Regions from separate parts of the Homo sapiens genome. Here region 2 is linked to region 1. The links are contacts of gene promoters, found by promoter capture Hi-C in blood cells and fetal thymus (Javierre and others, 2016). All regions are on one chromosome and are shown on one strand. Each heading gives the region's core, a stretch centred on a gene start or on the middle of the fragment in contact. The rest is flanking DNA. Distances are from core to core; before and after follow the strand shown. Region 1 holds the start of RAD50 (RAD50 double strand break repair protein). Region 2 holds the start of CCNI2 (cyclin I family member 2).

The links. The method cuts DNA at HindIII sites, captures the fragments that hold promoters and counts their contacts. A CHiCAGO score of 5 or more calls a contact.
Region 2: a contact is called between the fragment with the promoter of CCNI2 here and the fragment with the promoter of RAD50 in region 1, in 1 of 17 cell types (fetal thymus). The highest score is 5.7, in fetal thymus.

What each region holds. Positions count from the first base shown.
Region 1 is chr5:132,554,614-132,559,613 of GRCh38, reverse strand. RAD50 (RAD50 double strand break repair protein) reads right to left here and starts at 2,637. Exons shown (of 25, transcript NM_005732.4): 1 at 2,161-2,637; 2 at 247-330. The coding sequence starts at 2,289. It also overlaps a transcript of IL5 not described here. RefSeq lists an enhancer at 2,354-3,014. The HindIII fragment of the contact is 3,439 bases long and covers 1-2,879 here.
Region 2 is chr5:132,744,544-132,749,543 of GRCh38, reverse strand. It overlaps CCNI2 (cyclin I family member 2), which reads right to left and starts at 2,118. Exons shown (of 6, transcript NM_001039780.4): 1 at 1,620-2,118; 2 at 1,069-1,197; 3 at 122-196. The coding sequence starts at 2,048. RefSeq lists silencers at 1,756-1,945, 1,966-2,035, 2,046-2,465 and an enhancer at 2,556-2,635. The HindIII fragment of the contact is 9,894 bases long and covers 588-5,000 here.

The DNA of each region.
Region 1 (5,000 bases), core at 1,388-3,887:
ATGATAATGTTAAGTGGGGAAAAAAACCCAGAATACAAAATTAAGAGTATGACATCAGCTATATAAAACAGTATTTAAAGGAGGAGGAAAACACATGAAAATGTCAACAACGGTTACTACTGGGTGCTAAAACTGTGTGGGGCTGACTTTCATTTCTCTTTATAGTTTTCCAGTGCCAAGTTTTCTATAATAAGCTATTATCATTTTTATAATTATAAAAATACAAAATTGTACTAGCACCATTACCTTGGGATCGTGTACAAATGTATTTCCTTTGGTTCCAGGAGGGAAATCTCCAGTACAAATATATTTTAGACATTCAATGATGGTCTAAAGAAATAGAAAATTACATTATTTCGTTATAAGAGAACCACAGAAGTTTACCATAAAATATGAATTCATTACAAAAATATTATTTATCATGGAAACTATAAAAGATAAAATCTGACATTATAAAACCTGTAATAAAAATATGATTAAGTGTTAATGCTGTAAGTTCACAGAAATGCTATATAACTAAGAAGTTATCCTAATATGAAGAATTGTTACTTGGGAAAAAAATAATTATTTTCAACTGAAACCCTTTAAACTAATTTAAGTTAATAATAAGAATGGCTAACAGTTAAGTACTGTATTGTACTAAGCACTCTTACATACATTTATTTAATTCTCACATTAACTCCAGGCTGTAGGAACTTTTTGTTTAAGAGACAGGGTCTCATTCTGCTGCCCAGGCTGCAGTGCAGCTGCATGATCATGGCTTACTGCAGCCTCGACCTCTCGACCTCCTGGGCTCAAGCAATCCCCCAGCCTCAGCCTCCCAAACGGCTCGGATTACAGTCGTCAGCCACCATGCCCAGCCTGTAGAAACTTTTTTTTTTTTTTTTTTTTTTTTGTGGGGGGAGAGAGTCTCCCTCTGTCACCCAGGCTGGTGTAGTGCAATGGCGTGATCTCGGCTCACTGCAACCTCCACCTCCCCGGTTCAAGCGATTCTCCCGCCTCGGCCTCCCCAGTAGCTAGGATTACAGGCATGCGCCACCACGCCTGGCTAATTTTTGTATTTTTATTAGAGATGGGGTTTCGCCACGTTGGCCAGGCTGGTCTCGAACTCCTGACCTCAGGTGATCCACCCGCCTCGGCCTCCCAAAGTGCTGGGATTACAGGCGTGAGCCACCGTGCCCAGCTGTAGAAACTATTTTTAATCTCCATTTTATAAATGAGAAAACTAAGGCACAGAGCAGTGAGGTCACTCGCAAACAATCAGACAACTAATAAATGAAGCGAAAAAGCTGTATTGAGGCAGCCAGTCCTCATAAACACTATACAGTACTACTCTCCCTTCTGCTAGTATTTAGTACAATCCTAAGTACATAACAAGCATTCAACAAATAACATTTTTACAAAAACAAAAGTAAACAAGTTTGGCATTCAATTCTCAACCTTCTCTCTTTCTACACTCTTCACAAATCCTTCCTTTAGACTCTTCTCCCTGCTATACTGACATCGTCTTGCTTTTTCTTAAGCCACTATTCCTGACCAGAATGCCTCTTGGTTATTCTTTCCATTCAAATTTATAAATATTCCCACGGCTTTAAAAAAAAAAAAAAGTCAGTCGTGCACCAACGTTAAATTTTTGACTGAGTTTTAAGAAGAGAAGTTTTCCAAGTTAAGCCCCACTACATCAGTTACATTTTGAATTTATTTATTTTCCATGTATTATGTCTGGACAGTTGGCATACTTGGAAACTCTTTAGTCATGTATGTATCATTTTATAACTTTTAAAGGAATTCTTGTATGGGACAACTACTGGGAAGTGAATGCTATGCTTTGAAAGCAAGGAGACAGCGTTAAAAACATCAATACAGACCAAAGGGCATCCAGTGGGAACTGAACTCTGAGTGAGCGGCGACAGCTCCCGGTATCGTGGGATTCTTAAGTAAACCTTGTCCCCAGGCCAGGTCCGGACATCCTTCCGAGACTGCTTCAGGCAAACTCCTAAGGTCGCTGTAGCCTGCAGGCCACACCCTAAGGCACTTTAAGGGCCTACACCTGTGGAGCCCTAGGGACGCTTCTGCTCCTAAGGAGAGTTCTCAACTTCCCATTTTATTCTCCGAAAGATGTAGCGACCTGTAAACTGAAGGCGGCTACTGAAGACTTACCGTCTTTCCCGCCCCATTGGGTCCAACCAAAATTGTAAGGGGGCTGAAGAAAGTGATAATTTGCTTATCTTTGTCCTCTATTCCAAAACTCCGCACGCCCAGAATGCTCATCTTTTCGATCCGGGACATGTTTGCAAACGTTTCTAATCTCACCAGGGACCTGGAGCCCACAAAGGCTTAACTGAGGCCGAAGCAAGGCGTGCACGGGACGTGAGACCCGCGAATCTCAGGGTCAGGAGGATCCGGGCGGGGAGCGAGGCCACAGGACTGCCAAAAGATCCTGCCAGCCAACAGCGGGAGAGAGGGGGCGGGGGATGGAGCCTTTCCTCCCACACCAGCTGCTTTCCCCGCCGGTGGGGAGAGCGGAGGCGGGGACCAGCCTGGGGCTGCCCGCCGGGGACGCAAAGCCGTAGCCACAATGCGACCCCGCAACCGCGCACTCACAGCTTCCTGCCTCGGCCGCCCTGCGGATCACGTGGGCCTCTAGGCCCGCACGCGTCCACGCCGCTCTCCTGGGGCACGCCGGGAAATCAGAGTCCCGCGGTGCGTGCGCAGCTCCGACTTCCGGGTGCGGTACGGCGAAGCAGAGGGCTAGGTGCTGGGTGCTGTTGCCAGGGGCAGCGGACTTCCGGATCTTTGCTGGGGATGGGCAGCCTGGAGAGGCACTGACTTTTGGAAGGGGAGACCAAGACCTGTGACGGATGGCGCTTCCCAAAGCTTGATCCTGGGACTCCTGGAATGGGGGTAGTGGTGGGGTGGATTGGAGACCCAGGAAGCGGGGTCAGTTCGTGTCAAAACTATTTTCCTTTTCATTCTCATTCTCTCTCTAACGTTCGTGTAGTAATTTCCAGTGATCACATAACATGTGATGACGCCATTGCAGTGGCGGTTAATGGAATGTGCGCATGTGTATTCTTGCGCTTAGAAATACCAATTTTAATTTCTAATTGAGTAAATGTTGATAATTATAACTCACGTACACGCTCTTTGAGGTCCCCCGTAATTTTTTAGTGTAAAGGCGTCTTTAAGACCAAAAGTCTGGGAACTAAAACTAAAAGCAGTCTGCAAATATGAAGAATGTAGAGGTAATCCATTCCGATCAGTGCTCCCAGCAATAGATATCTTTAAAAATAAGGGAAAGAGAAGTTACCTGTCTCAGAAGTAACTGAGAATATTGCTTTCTTGGAAACAAACTTAATGGAGGGATATCACATTTAAGGGCCTAGAGAAACATACATAAAAATTACTGAAACAATAGTGGAGGACATTTAAATGAAACACAAATTTGGAATTACTGTAGTGGTATAATTTGCCTCTGCCTGCCTTGGAAAAATGTAGGAAATGTTTCTCCAGTCATACAATCCCAAGCAAATAATTTACAGAACCTAATACATAAATGTATGTGCCAAAGGATGCAAGTGGGGAAGACCAGTGAGAAATAGTCTCTTGCTGTACCAGGTTAAAAAAAACCGGAAAGTGTCAGTTATTACAAAATAGTTAAAATAACTAATGGAACAAAACATTAAAATTATATAGGAATGTCTTACTTGGCAAAGCAAATGTAATAAAACAATGGGAAAAGACGAAAGACCTTTTTTTATTTTAAAAATTGTAAAATACACATAAAATTTACTGTCTTGGCCAGGCGCGGTGGCTCACGCCTGTAATCCCAGCACTTTGGGAGGCCGAGACGGGTGGATCACGAGGTCAGGAAATGAAGACCATCCTGGCTAACACGGTGAAACCCCGTCTCTACTGAAAACACAAAAAATTAGCCGGGCATGGTGGCAGGCGCCGATGGTCCCAGCTACTCAGGAGGCTGAGGCAGGAGTATGGCATGAACCCGGGAGGCGGAGCTTGCAGTGAGCCGAGACCGCACCACTGCACTCCAGCCTGGGCAACAGAGCGAGACTCCGTCTCAAAAAGAATTTACTATCTTAACCAAGTGTACATTTCAGTGGTGTTAAGTATACTCACGTACAACCGTCACCACCTTTCAACCTCTACAAATCTTTTCACTTTGCAAAACAAACTACCCATTAAACAATAACCCTTTCCTCCCCACATCCTCCAAACCCTGACAACCAACATTCTACTTACTGTCTCTATAATTTTTTACTAAGTACCTCATATAAGTGGAATCATACAGTATTTATCTTTTTGTGACTGGCTCATTTCACTTATAATGTCCTCAAGGTTCATCCATGTTGCAGCTCAGTCCCCAACCCCTGGGTCACTGACCAGTATGCATACCTGGCCTGTTAGGAACCTGGTGGCACAGTAGGAGGTGAGCAGCAGGTGAGTGAACATTACCACCCGAGCTGGGCCTCAGATCAGTGGGGGCATTAGATTCTCATAGGAGCACAAACCGTATTTTGAACTGCCCATGAGAAAGATGTAGGTTGCCCCATGCAAGGGATCTAGCTTGCCCATTCCTTATGAGAATCTAATGCCTGATGATGTGAGGTCGAACAGTTTCATCCCAAAACCATCACCCCACTCCTGTCTGTGGAAAAACTGTCTTCCGTGAGACTGGTCCCTGGTGCCAAAAAGGTTGGGGACCACTGTAGCATATATCAGAATTCAGGTCGTTTTTAAGGTTGAATAAGATTCATTACAATACACATCACATTTTGCTTATCCATCTATTGATGGACATTTGGGTTACTTTCACGTTTTAGCTATTGTGAATAGTGTGGCTATATATATTGGTGTACAAATGTCACTTCTGGACCCTGCTTTCAATTCTTTTGGGTATATACCCAGAAGTGGAATTATTAGATCATACAGTAATTCAATTTTTAATTATTTGAGGAACTGCCATACTGTTTTCCACAGTG
Region 2 (5,000 bases), core at 869-3,368, 190 kb before region 1:
GTGACTTTTTCAAAACATCCACCATACCTAAGGGCACAGACCTATCAGGAAACTGGAGTCCTCCAATGTTACACCCCTATACCTCAAGTGCAGCCCAGTGTGGACTTCCAAGGATGCATACCTCCTCTTCTTCATTAACTTTTGCAGCGAGCCTCAAGGAAGTAATTGTGGCGCAATGCAGGTATTTCTCTTTTACCTGCAGTATGGAACAAACACATTTGAGCAGAATATGAATGCCAGAAACAAACTGAAAAGCATCTGTGTTTGTTTTCTTTTATACACTTTTTTGACATGGAGTCTCACTCTGTTGCCCAGGCTGGAGTGCAGTGGCATGATCTTGGCTCACTGCAACCTCCACCTCCTGATTTTGAGCGATTCTCCTGTCACAGCCTCCTGAGTAGCTAGGACTATAGGGGCGGGCCACCACACCTGGCTAATTTTTGTATTTTTAGTAGAGACAGGGTTTCACCATGCTGGCCAGGATGGTCTCCAACTCCTGACCTCAAGTGATCCACACCCCTTGGCCTCCCAAATTGCTGGGATTACAGGCGTGAGCCATTGCGCCCAGCCGTTTGTTTTAATAAGCTTTTTTTTCCCATTTTTAAAAGGCTCAATTTCTCCACAAGACAGAATGTTAGTGCCGTTTTTAGATCTGACCAACGAAGATGCTCCTGATTTCAGAACTGCAGATGACTGGGCAGTATTCCTTCATTTCGGGACTGACTGGAGGTGGGAAATATGGCACCTTCTCAGGGAACCCAGTCTCATCCTAGCCTCAAGCTGCCCTCGACAGGTCGAGACAAGCACATCCTACCTCATTACACAGGAAGCCCTTTCCCAGCTAGGTCCTCTCACGCTCCCCAAGTCCAATCCTGATGACTACATGACCCTGAGACAGCCAGTGTAGGATGTGGAGAGGTTCCAACACCAGCTCTTCCACTCGGAGCAAGTTAGTTTATACACCTTGGTTTTGAGCATCTGGAAACCCTCACCTCTCAAGCAGGAATGGGGAGCAAAGGTTAGTTTCTTCTCTCACCATCTGCCACCGTCCCTCAGAGGCCTCCCTACCTTCACTGAAATCAGGAGGCGGCCAAAGATGGTGAGGGCCAGGTTAAAAGTGGACTGGGAGAAGTAAAAGGTGTTCTGAAGCCGCAGGAGCCACAGCACGACTTCCTCGAAGGCGTCGCAGATTTCATCCTGCTAGGAAGAAGAGCAGGTGGGGCGAGGAAGGTCGCTAGCGGCCACTCCTGGTCCCCCAGCAGCAGGAGCCTCCTGCTTAAGGTGCGGGGGGTGGGGCAGTGAGAAGTCCCTTCCTCTGCATGCCCGCTGGGAGTAAGCGCCCCCCGGCGCAGCGGCTCACCCATCACCCCCACCCCTCGCGCCCACTTTTCGTCGTAGGCTGAGTTCCTTGATTCAAACAGGCCCTCTTCCGAAGGCCCTGCTAGCAAGACGCCCTCCTAGAGAGAAGCTGGTGGATCCAGCCTCGTGCCTCTCGTGAGGGGCCACACCTGGGGAAGGGCCCGGCCTCCAGTTTCAGAACACCCGAGCGCGGGTGCAGGTGGAGGCCACATCCGCCTGCCGTGCACGCGCGAGGAGGGCCACGCGGCAGCGACGGGTACCTGGGGTTTGCCGCCCCGCCACAGGCGCGCCTCGCGGTCCTGGGCCAGCTGCAAGTGGCAGAGCAGCCGGCGCTCGTCCAGGTCGCCTTCCAGGTTGCGCGGCTTGCGGGACTGTGGAGCCGGCCGCGGAGCTTGCTCTGGGGCGGCGGCGGGGACCGCGTCTGCGGTTTTCCCGGCTGGCGCCGTACCGCGCCGGGGCCGCACGGGGACTGCTGCGGACGCCGCGTGGAGGGAGGCCGCTCCGGGCTGGCGGGTCCCAGGGCACCTGCTCCGGTTGCTTCGGGGCAGAGGGGCCTCCCCCGGAGACGGCGGGAGAGGAACGCCCAGGGCTGTTTCCTCCAGACCGGCGCCGGGACGCCCGCCTGGGCTCTGGACGGCGCTGACCTCTGAGCTCGACGGCTGCGGCGGGAGCTGAGCGCCCGAGGCCATGTCGTGAGCGGGATCCTGAGTCTGAGTTGCCGCTTAACCCGGCATTTTATAACCCAGCTCCCGGAACACTGCAGCCTGGGGCGCCGCCGGGGGAGGTGGGGAGGCGGGCTCGGCGGGCCCCACCCACAACGCTCGCGGTGGAGCTACCTCTGGCGCACCGGGCCGCGCCTCGCCTCCTGGGCACTCGCCCCGCGGGTGGGCGGCGCGCACCCAGGATGCGGCAGGACTGGGCGCGCACAGGCGGGTGGCGGACCCCCTCCCTTCCCTCCATCCCCGCTGCTGCCTAGCGCACGCCTCCTCCCCCCTGCCGGCCGTGCTCCCTGAGCAGAGCCCCCAGCCAGGGGTGGGGCGGCTGGAGACTGCGCCCGCCTTGGGCCAGGACTCCCGGACACAGACCCTGGGTCTTACCTCACATTACACACTTGGGGACACAAGACCAGGTAAAGAAGCAGCGAGAGCGCCCTCCTCAGACAGGCTTGAAATGGAATTCCAGACGCGCTGTGTGATCTCATGCATGTGTCGTGACCTCTCAGAGCCTTGGCTACCTCTTCTCCGAAAAAAAAAGTGATAATACCTCCCTCACAAGGTGATTCATTCATATACATATATGTTTATGTATCTATACATACATATATAGCTATAAACGTATAATAAGGAAAATCATACAAATCATATATATGTATACACATACATACATAAATTTTAGGGGTGGATCTTGCTATGTTGCCCAAGCTGGAGTGCAGTGGCTATTCTCAGGTGTGATCGCAGCACACTACAACCTCAAACTCCTGGACTCAAGCTACCCTCAACCTCAGCTTCTCAAGTAGCTGAGACTTACAGGTGCACACCACCACACCTGGCTCCTAAGTTATATTTTGTTTAAAAAATTCATTACATTAAATGTATATTAAAAATATATGGGAATACCAGAAGGACAAGAAAGAGAGGAACAGAAGAAATATTTGAAACAATAACGACTGAGAATGAATATTTCCAAATTAATGCCAAACACCAAACCACAATTCTAGGAAGCTCTGAGAACATTAAGCAAGATAAATGCCAAGAACTACACCTAGACATTCCTATTTAAACCGTAGAAAATCAAAAGAAACTATCAACAGAGTCAGCAGACAACCTATAGAGTGGGAGAAAAGTATTAGCAAAGTAAGCATTCGACAAAGGTCTTAATATCCAGAATCTGTAAGGAATTTAATTAAACAAGCAAAAAACAACCCCATCAAAAAACAGGCAAAAAGACATGAATAGACTTCTCAAAGGGAGATATACAAGTGGTCAACAAACATGAAAAAATGCTCCACATCACTAATCATCAGAGTAATGCATCTCACACCAATCAGAATGGCTACTATTAAAAAGTCAAAAACCAACAGACGCTGGTGAGGCTGCAGGGAAAAGGGAATGCTTATACACTGCTGGTGGTAATGTAAATTAGTTCAGTCACTGTTGAAAGCAGTTTAGAGATTTCTCAAACAACTTAAAACAGTACTATTCAACCCAGCAGTCCCTTTACTGGGTATATACGCAAAAGGAAAATAAATTGTTCTACCATAAAGACACATACATTTGCATGTTCATCACAGTACTAGTCACAGTAGCAAAGACATGGAGTCAACCTAGGTGCCCTTCAGTGATCGACTGGATAAAGAAAATGTGGTACATATACAATATGGAATACTATGTAGTCATTAAAAAGAATGAAATCATGTCCTTTGTAGCAAACATGGATGAAGTTGGAAGCTATTATTCCAAGCAAATGAACACAGGAACAGAAAATTATATACTACATGCTCTCACTTTTAAGCGAGCATTGAGTACACATGGACGTAAAGATGGCAACAGTAGACACTGGAGGCTACCAGAGCGGGGAGGGAAGGAGGGGACAAGGGTTGGATAACTATGGGGTACTGTGCTCAGTACCTGGGTGACAGGATCATTCATACCCCAAATATCAGCATTGCACAATATACCAGAATCTAAAATAAAAGTTGAAAAAAGCCTGCAGGAAATCAAGATTAAAAAAAAAAAATCTCAAAAGAAGCTGGCCTGTAATCTCAGCACTTTGGGAGGCTGAGGTGGGCGGATCACTTGAGGTCAGGAGTTCAAGACCAGCCTGGCCAATATGGTGAAACCCTGTCTCTACTAAAAATACAAAATTAGCCAGGTGTGGTGGCACATGTCTGTAGTCCCCGCTACTCAGGAGGCTGAGGCACAAGAATCGCTTGAATCCAAGAGGTGGAGGTTGCAGTAAACTGAGATCATGCCACTGCACTCCAGCCTGGGTGACAGAGGGAGACTCCATCTCAAAAAAAAGAAAAGAAAAGAAAAAAGAAAGAAAGAAAGAAAGAAAGAGCAAGCAAAGCTGGGAGCAGGAGCTGGGTAGGATGAGGTGGAAATAAGATAAGGTGGGATAAGGATAAGAATCACATTGGACTTGTCTTCGGAAATCATGCAAGCAAGAAGAGAGTGGGGTGAAATATTTAAAATTTTGAGAGAAAACCCCCACCATCCTAGAATTCTGTATTCAGTGAAATTATCCTTCAGAAGTGAAAGAGAAATACTTTTACAAACAAAATTGAAGGTATTTCTCACCAGTAGACCTGCTTTGCAAGAAATGTTAAAAGAAATTTTTCAGAGAGAAGGAAAATGATATAGGTCATAAATTTCGACATAAAGAAAGAACTTTAAGGAATAAGTGAAAGTAAAATAAAACTTTTGTTTTTCTTATTCCTAATTGATCTAATAATCATTTATTCAAAATAATAATAATGTATTTGATGATTGTAGGTTATGGATAAGTTGAATGAATGACAATAATGATACTAGCCATGAGAGGGAAGAATTAAGAATACTTTGTTTTAAGTTACCTGCATTACCTGGAAAGCAGTATAATGTTACTTGAAAGTGGACTTGAATTAGTTATAAATGTATATT